Regions from separate parts of the Homo sapiens genome. Here all the other regions are linked to region 1. The links are contacts of gene promoters, found by promoter capture Hi-C in blood cells and fetal thymus (Javierre and others, 2016). All regions are on one chromosome and are shown on one strand. Each heading gives the region's core, a stretch centred on a gene start or on the middle of the fragment in contact. The rest is flanking DNA. Distances are from core to core; before and after follow the strand shown.

Region 1 (2,881 bases), core at 247-2,746:
ACATGGTGAAACTCTGTCTCTATTAAAAATACAAAAAATTAGCCGGGCATGTTGGCACACGCCTGTAGTCCCAGCTACTCAGGAGGCTGACACAGGATAATCGCTTGAATCTGGGAGGTGGAGGTTGCAGTGAGCTGAGATCATGCCACTGCACTCCAGCCTGGGCGAAAGAGCAAGACTCTGTCTAAAAAAAAAAAAAAAAAAAAAATGTTTATCCTACTACTTTGACACACCTAACTTACAGCAAACATACATATAACAACTTAGAAGTCCAGGTCCAAATTTAGAATCTTTGAGTACCACACCTCCTGATTTTGTACCTGAGGAAGCTTTTTCAGAACTTAACACAAATGATCTTTTATTTCAAAAGATCTTATTTCACTGATCCTTGCATAAAAAACATTTTCTCACAGTATTGCCTAATACTTTAATTTTTCTCCTTAGAATCAAAATTTGATAAATACATTCTGGAGCTCATTGTAAAACAAATATCAGTATACATTATGTCCCCAAAGAAAATCCAAATTGCTTGGTAGATTTGGTGCTTTGTTTTAGAAATTGTCTTTCAAGGCTTTTTAAAGGATCTACAGGCCCCTAATCTTCCCTGTTTACCTCCTACTCTACTGGAAGACCCTAAGAACTCAGTTTCCTTAACTGTGGTTTGAACATCCTGATCACTTCTGAGACAATGCCATTAGTGAATACATTCTAAGCACGTCATCTGAATATTCACAGACATCTTTTTAAAAGGGCTGGATCTGGAAGTTAGGCCATGAAGAGAGGAGGACCTGTGACTTGGACAAGGCTTCAAAGCCGGCCACCTGCTTGTTCATGTGGTTGCAGCTGGTCTAACTGGAATAACTTGGGAAGGAAATTAGGACACCCAGTTGGAGTTCCAGCTCTGCCATAAGCTGGCTGAACTGGAGTGAGTCACTTAAAACTCTTTGTTAAACCCCAGAGTCATAATCTATAAAATCGGGATAAAGACGTTTGCCTTAAGCCCTCCACCAGTTTTTGGAGGAAACCACAATTTGCTGAGCTTTAATTTTTACACCTGTTGCAATTAAGATGGCACTCCTGCCCTGTCCACTTCACAGGGCTTTTGGGGACGGGATGGGGAGGCACCACCTTTCTGAGCTTCAGTTTCAAAACAGAGCTAAGAATACATGCCCAACCCGCAAATAAAATTCTAGGAAGAACAGAGGAAAACGGACAGGAAAACTGCGAAATGCAGTCGGCCATACAAGCATGAATTGTCTTAAACACAACAAGCAGACCTAAAGAGCGTTTGTGCGTCTCTCTCCTCTTGGCTCGAGTCACAACCCCATAACGTAAATCAATATCACTTTTGAAAAAGGCTTTCGCTGTTCTCAGCAGCGTCCGCATTTGTACTCACCTGTGCGCCCCCAGCGCCCGGCCTGGGGGCCCTGCGGGGCGGGGGCGGGGGCGGGGGCGGGGCCCAACCCTGCCCACCCCTCGTGATGCCCCGCCCCGTCGCTCCTGCGCCTGCGCCGTGCCCACCGACCGGCCTCGAGCGCCCCGGCGGGAGGTAAGGGGCTCTCTGGAGGCCGCCTTTGGGGGCGTCGGGCCCTCACAGGCTTGGTGGGCCTGGCGCCCGTGTGGCGCGCGCAAGAGGCGCTGGGCGGCAAGTAGGGCATTGGATCCGAAGTGCGAGCGCCATGGTGGCTCCTCCTGTTTTTCAGAAGTGGCGGAGCCTCGCTTGGTTTCGTTTTTGGAAGCTTTATTGGAAGCTGGTATAGGGAGGCCGCAGACGATGCGAGCAGGACGGCCTCCCGGGGTCGCGGGGTGGAAAAGTTTCCGGCGCGCGTCCTGTCTCTGGCGCGCTGTAGGCCCCGGGTCGCCAGGGTCGCTGGCGTCTGGGTCCCGGGACAGACCCGCGCATCCGTTCGCTGGTGGGGGCGTTTGGTGTGTGTGGCCCAGGTGTGCTGTGGGTGACACTGCGAGGAATGACGCGACGCTCGATGGTAGTGAGGCTCGGAGGACTGGGAGCGAGAGGCCGGAAGCCCCTGCTCGCCAAACCCAGAGGTGGTTGGCAGAAGGTCCCACACCTTGGCTCCCTCCTTTTAGCTAACCGAGGTTCAGAGAGGAGACTTTACTTTGACTTTTCTCTCCAAATTCGGTATCTCTTCCATAAGTCAGAAACATTAAGCGGCGGGCCGGAAGAAATCGGGCGCCACTAGTATCCTGAAAAGTGGGAGCTCTGGGCCGATGGAAGGTGTTCGTCACTTTTGGGGGCTGGGTTTCCTGAGAAATGGGGTCTTTCACTTATTAATAACCTCCTAAGTAACTTACTGGGAAACATGAGTATTATGGTACCCATCTCATATTAGTTGTAAGCACTACATGATAAAGTTTGTAAAGCACCTGGCACAGTCCTGGCACCCCTCTCTCCAAGTATTAATGCAGTGAATACGATGGCAGTTCTTTGACTTCTAAATGTTTTTACCTGTCTTACGTGAAACATCCTCTTATACTAAAAAACTTTTTTATTTTGAAATAATTTTAAAATTACAGAAAAGTTTCAAAAGTAATACAGAGTTCCCTATTGCCTCCATTAATAATTTTTTACATACCATAGCGCAATTATCAAAAGCAAGAAGTTAATATTAGTATAATACTATTAACTGAATTACTAACTTGTGATTTTTTTTCCTGTATTAATGTCCTTTTTCTATTCTAGGATCCACTCTAAGACCCGACATTGCAGTTAGTTGTCTTGGGTCCTTGGTCTCCTCCAGTCTGTGACAGTTCCTCTGTCTTTTCCTGTCTTTACACTGATAGTCTTTTTCTGTCTTTATACTCTTTCTGATCTTTACACTTTTGAAGAATGCTGGTCAGTTATTTTGTAGAGTGCCCCTCA
Region 2 (2,881 bases), core at 169-2,668, 440 kb after region 1:
TCCTCTTATCCTCCAAAAGTCAATTCCCCACACAGCAGCCAGGGTGATCTTTTAAAACATAAATCGTGTTTCAAAATGATACAGGAAGGGGGAAAGGAAACGAAATGTATATACATGTAGGACAGGACTGGTCATCCAAGAGATGATGGTTGCTAGAGTTAGACTGTGAGCACCTGGGAGTTCACTAGTGTTCTATTTTTATAAATTCAGCACATTAAAGTTAAATAAATATAATGCAGATCATGCCACTCCTCTGCTCAAAACCCTCCAGTGGTCTTTTCGCCACACTCAGGTTAAAATCCAAACTCCTTACCAGGGACCACAGAGTCCCACATGATCTGGCCACTATCACTCTTCTTCGCCCCCATCTTCTACCATTCTCCCAGTACCTCATTTGCACAGGCCTTCCTGCCATTCTTCAAATATGCGAAGCCTGTTCTCACCTCAAAGCCATTGTACTTGCTGTTTCCTATGCCTGAATGTTCTTCCCACAGATGTTGACAAGACTTGCTCCTTCACTTCAATGACATTCAGATATCTTATTCTCAGAGAGCATTTGACAACCTATCTAAAATAGCTCCCCCTCACTGTTCCTGCCCATGCTCTTTATACCCCATTTTACTTTCATCTTTCTTCCTAGTACTGACATTATATATTTGTTTACTGTCTATAGATCCCACCAGAAGGTACATACCATGAGGGCAAGCACCTTATCAACCATGTTTATCTCTGTAGCCCCAGAGTCTAGAATAGTACTATTCAAAAGACCTTTCTGTAATGATCAAACTGTTCTATATCTATCTGCACTGTCCAATATAGTAACCACTACCCACATGTAGCTGTTGAGCACTTGAAATGTGGCTAGGGTTACTGAGGAATTGAATTTTAAATTTTAATTAATTTAAGTAGCCATTATTTATTGATGCCCAATAAAGCTTTGAATAAATGCCTTATAAAGTATGACTGCATTAGTGTTTGGTTACAAACTCTAACCCTCACAGCAAAAGGATAAAAGCAATGAGACACACACGTAGAGAAAAAGTAGCAAGCAAGTCAAGCATTAAATGCAAAGCTAAGACACAATTTTTATAACATAATACTGACCCTGACACTACTAATACAGTACCCTAAAAACCACAGTAAATCAAAAAGCTAATGTTAAACTGTAATTTCATTTTAAAAACTAGCTATATCGGCCGGGCGCGTTGGCTCATGCCTGTAATCCCAGCACTTTGGGAGGCTGAGACAGGTAGATCACGAGGTCAGGAGATCGAGACCATCCTGGCTGACACGGTGAAACTCCGTCTCTACTAAAAATACAAAAAAAATTAGCTGGGCATAGTGGCAGGCGCCTGTAGTCCCAGATACTTGGGAGGCTGAGGCAGGAGAATGGCGTGAACTCGGGAGGTGAGCCAGGATCGCGCCACTGCACTCCAGCCTGGGCGACTGAGTGAGACTCCGTCTCCAAAAAAAAATAAATAAAAATAAATAAAAACTAGTTATATCAAGGATATAGCTAGCTAACTATTAAGAATACATACAGTAGTAGTTCAACATGTGCACAAAATGTTAGAAATTGCTGCAACTAGATGGGGGTAGGCAAGTGCTTATTGTATTCCTTCTGAAGGTTTGACTTTAAAATAAAAAAGATAGGTAAGGGAATGCAAAAAAAAAAAAGAAAGAAAGAAAAGAAAAATAGTGCCAAGGTAATCAAATGTAAAACAACAATCTTTTCAACAAATAGTGCTGGAATAAATGGCTGTTTATATGAACAGGAAAAAAAAAAGATACACACAGTATTTCAGAAATAAACAACTTCAGTTGATTATTACAGAATCTGACTATTCAGCCACTGCATGTAAGACTTAATGTACCCTGAGACTTCTTTTCAAAGTAAGGATCAAAGCTTCAAATTACTAAAAAGTTTAAAAAAAAAAAAAAACTACCTGAATACAAGTGAAATTTCTTGACTTTTTGTAAATACTAGCAAACTAAATGCATTAAGCTGCAGCACCAACATGTAAAAGCAAACAGTCAGTAGTCCTAAGACTATATCTAACCGAGACATCAATTTACCAATAGAAAAATCTATACAGTTTCTGAGAGAAAAAGAGTTACAATTCAGCTTGTGGTGTGTGATCTGACATCAATGCCAAGCAATGCTATTTGGTTCCTCCTAAAGATTAGGCTGTGGCCAGGCAAAGAGGCTCATGCCTGTAATCTCAACACTTTGGGAGGCCAAGGTGCAAGGATATTTAAGGCCAGAAGTTCAAGACCAGAATGTGCATTTTAATGTCATTTTGTATAGAATGCTACTAACAATCTATCATTTTGTATAGATTGTACCAATGATGTACATTTTTATACTCTGTCTCTAAGATAATGGTTCCTTTTTAAAAAATAAATAAATAAATAATGGTTCTTATCAAGTTATTACAAATCTGCCAAGGTGAATTAGAGCATTCTACCAGTGGATGTTTTTAAATATTATTCCTATCTGAATTTATTTATTTCAGCTTTATACAGTATCTCAATTTGTATTCTGATCTTCAACAGTCTACGCAGTCTTTTAAACTTACCATTATATGTTAATGAGCTGCTAATAAGCCTAGTCATGTTATAATAGCACAAAATAGTTCTAAAGCATACTATTTTAAATATCCATAAAACTAAAGCAGTATTTAGATCCTTTGTTAGTGTTATCCAGATAAGATGACCCAAAACTAGCATAATTAATAAATTTTCAGATTTTGAATTTTGGTCCTACTAGTCTATCTAAATACAAATGCTACTAACAAAGCAGTAACAAAAGTTTACTAGTGCTTATATGTAATCAAACACCGAAGAAGCTTGGAATTTTTACTTCTTGGCTCTCTAAAAA
Region 3 (2,881 bases), core at 137-2,636, 300 kb after region 1:
GTTATTAATAATATAGCCAATGAAGTGCCCAGATCTGACTGGTTCCAAAATCCATTCTCATTTTATTACACCGTACTGCCTCCCCATGGAGTAGCATTTTTGGATCCCCTAAAGCGAACATCAATATGCTAGGAAAATGAATTACTTGTGCAGTATTGGGAAAAAGGAAATGGATGTAAAAACTGTTACCCTGTGGTTAAGGAAAATAAAAATTATTAGAAATTAAGTCATTGTTGAGTCAGTTAGAATAAAAAACATTTAGTTTTGAAGTAGCTATAGGGAGCAGGTCTTCTGCCTTTTAGAATTAGAATCATAGAGTCAAAGGACATTAAGCTGGGTGGGCTTTAGATCAGAATCCACCCTCCTTATTTTTCATGTGGGAGGAAACAGAGGCTAGGAAAAATTCAGTGATTTGCCTTTGGGTGTGGGAGTGTTCTGGCTGAGACCTCTCTCATGTCCCTCCCTTACTTAAATCCTTCAGTACTGGCCGGGTGCAGTGGCTCATGCCTGTAATCCCAGCACTTTGGGAGGCCAAGGCGGGAGGATCACAAGGTCAGGAGATCGAGACCATCCTGGCTAACACAGTGAAACCCTGTCTCTACTAAAAATACAAAAAATTAGCCGGGCGTGGTGGTGGGCGCCTGTAGTCCCAGCTACTCAGGAGGCTGAGGCAGAAGAATGGCATGAACCTGGAAGGCAGAGCTTGCAGTGAGCCGAGATCGCGCCACTGCACTCCAGCCTGGGCAACAGAACGAGACTCCGTCTCAAAAAAAAAAAAAAAAAAAAAAAAAATCCTTCAGTACTGCTTCAGAAGACTGAAAGGAAAAGCCCAAACTCCTTGACCCTGCACTTTTCGTCATCGAGTTCTTGCTTATCTTTTGGGCTTCAGTGTCCTGTGTCTCCAGTTCTACTCTATCCTCAGACATACTGTGTTTTTAAAGCTTTCATTCTAGTCACCTCTTTTTCATCCTCCACACACAATGCCGTCGCACATTCAGCTTCCTTCCTACTTTAAGCTGGCTTAATTGCATATACTTTCAACATGCAGCTCAGGCACTGTTTTCTCCAATAAGCTTCTACTGACCCCTCAAGGCTGGGTTAGGTGCCCCTCTACAGAGTTCTTACTACCGTGTGTCCTTACCTCTATCATAGAACTGATCTCATTGTATGACAGCAGTGAATAGCATTGCATATGGTTTCACTTTCTATTACGGTCAAAGGGAGGGATAGTGTGGGGGTTATTGGAGCATGTAATAAGTGGATCCAAGAGACATGATATACACAACTTACTAATGTTGGCTTCAGAATATGCATATAGGAGGAGCTTATGGGGACAAATTGATTGGAAGGAGTGGGAGTAAGATTTGAAGCTGTCTTTATATAGCACTTTACATAAAATTCAGAAAATACTTATTGCCCTCCATATCAAAGAAATTGGGAGCAGGAACAAGATGGAGACATTGAGGAGTGTCAAAGTGTTAGTAATCCTAAGTTAAGATCCTGTTCAACTGCCATCTCTTTCATGAAGTCATTCTGTTCTAACCCCTTCCCCTCTTCACAAGGACATCTTGGGGAAGTCACAAGGAATGACTTTTAAGTACATCATCTATCCTGTCTTTGTGTTCTGTTTTTGTATCCTTTTTGTGCATTTACCCTTCCTTGCTTATAATTTTGCATTGCATACAAGCGTACATCTGTATAAAGCTTCCCCAACTCTTAGCATGGAGTCTGATACAGAGTAATTACATCAAAAATAACCATTGAATGTTGAATGAATGGTTTAATTAGGTCAGTGCTTCTCAATCCCGGTTGCATTTTTGAATCACCTACCGAAAATTTAAGAAATATTAATTCCAAAGTCCCAGAAATTCTGATTTTGTTGATCTAGGATGGGAACAGACTTTTTTTTTAAGCTCCTAAGGATTGAGAACTCCTAGATTAGGTTCTTTGTTTCAACAGTGGTTCTCAAAGTTTAGGATTCTAGACCAGCAGCAGCAGCACTTCCCAGAAACTTGCTACAAAATGCAGATTCTTGGCCCCTACACCAGTGAATGACAAACTCTGCGGGAGGGCCTATGTGTTTTCAAGCCCTCCAGACGATCTTGATGCATGCTAGAGTTTGAGAACTTCTTTTGCTAGAGTTTAAGACAAAAAAAAAATGTTGTCCTTAAATAAAATACCAACTGTGAGAAACCAAATATACTTTATAATCATCCTAAAAGGTTGTACCAATTTAAAGCACCACTCTAAATAAATCAGAGTACCTCACAAGCACAACAGAATTATCCTTGTGGAAATAAGCATCCCAGCATTTTATAACTTTTTTCAATATTTATTTTTGGTTAGTTTCCTATATATAAAAGGCTCTCCAATGAAGGCATTAATTTTCATAATAATCTAAATAAAATAGGCTATATTAGTCAGGAAGAGCACCTGAAAAATCTGGCATTGGATAAGGAAGCCTCAGAGTCAAGAATACCTTTCCATAATTTCCTCTCATAGAGAAAAGCCTTTTTTTGACAGTAACATTTTCTCCTTCTCTCATTTGTGCTGTTTGACTCCGTGCCACTTGATAGCTCTGTCTATTCCTATGGAAACCAAGTTAGTGGATGGAGCCAAGGCTTGGAGAAGGCATTGGGGGGAAATATTAGAAGAGTTCAGCCTTAGAGCAACTAAAGATGTTGCCTTTCCCTCAGTCAAATCCTCTTTGAGAGCCAGAACTATTTCAAGCCAGAGAGATGTTCTTGGCTGATGTATTGTCTAGCTGCTCTGCCAGATGGATGAACATCTTAAACTTGGAAAATAGCAAATAAAGCTCCTATTCTGTCTTTGGAGCACATTCTTAGCCTTTGCTTACAGAATTGTCAAATAACTAAAAAAT

What was found. Contacts are between HindIII fragments. The CHiCAGO score rates a contact against its expected background, and 5 or more counts as called.
Region 2: a fragment that was not itself captured here is called in contact with the fragment with the promoter of STX17 in region 1 in 1 of 17 cell types (fetal thymus); the score reaches 5.5 in fetal thymus.
Region 3: a fragment that was not itself captured here is called in contact with the fragment with the promoter of STX17 in region 1 in 1 of 17 cell types (erythroblasts); the score reaches 5.5 in erythroblasts.

Annotation. Positions count from the first base shown.
Region 1 is chr9:99,905,158-99,908,038 of GRCh38, forward strand. STX17 (syntaxin 17) reads left to right here and starts at 1,497. Exons shown (of 8, transcript NM_017919.3): 1 at 1,497-1,549. It overlaps STX17-DT (STX17 divergent transcript), which reads right to left and starts at 1,444. Exons shown (of 3, transcript NR_038853.1): 1 at 1,397-1,444. RefSeq lists a silencer at 1,236-1,635 and an enhancer at 1,796-2,035. The HindIII fragment of the contact is 1,410 bases long and covers 328-1,737 here.
Region 2 is chr9:100,341,672-100,344,552 of GRCh38, forward strand. All of the region lies in intron 4 of TEX10 (testis expressed 10), which reads right to left. Among named protein-coding and RNA genes, the nearest start is that of TEX10, 9.8 kb to the right of the region's middle. The HindIII fragment of the contact is 971 bases long and covers 934-1,904 here.
Region 3 is chr9:100,209,004-100,211,884 of GRCh38, forward strand. The region is part of intron 3 of INVS (inversin); the gene reads left to right. Among named protein-coding and RNA genes, the nearest start is that of INVS, 110 kb to the left of the region's middle. RefSeq lists an enhancer at 1,037-1,086. The HindIII fragment of the contact is 631 bases long and covers 1,072-1,702 here.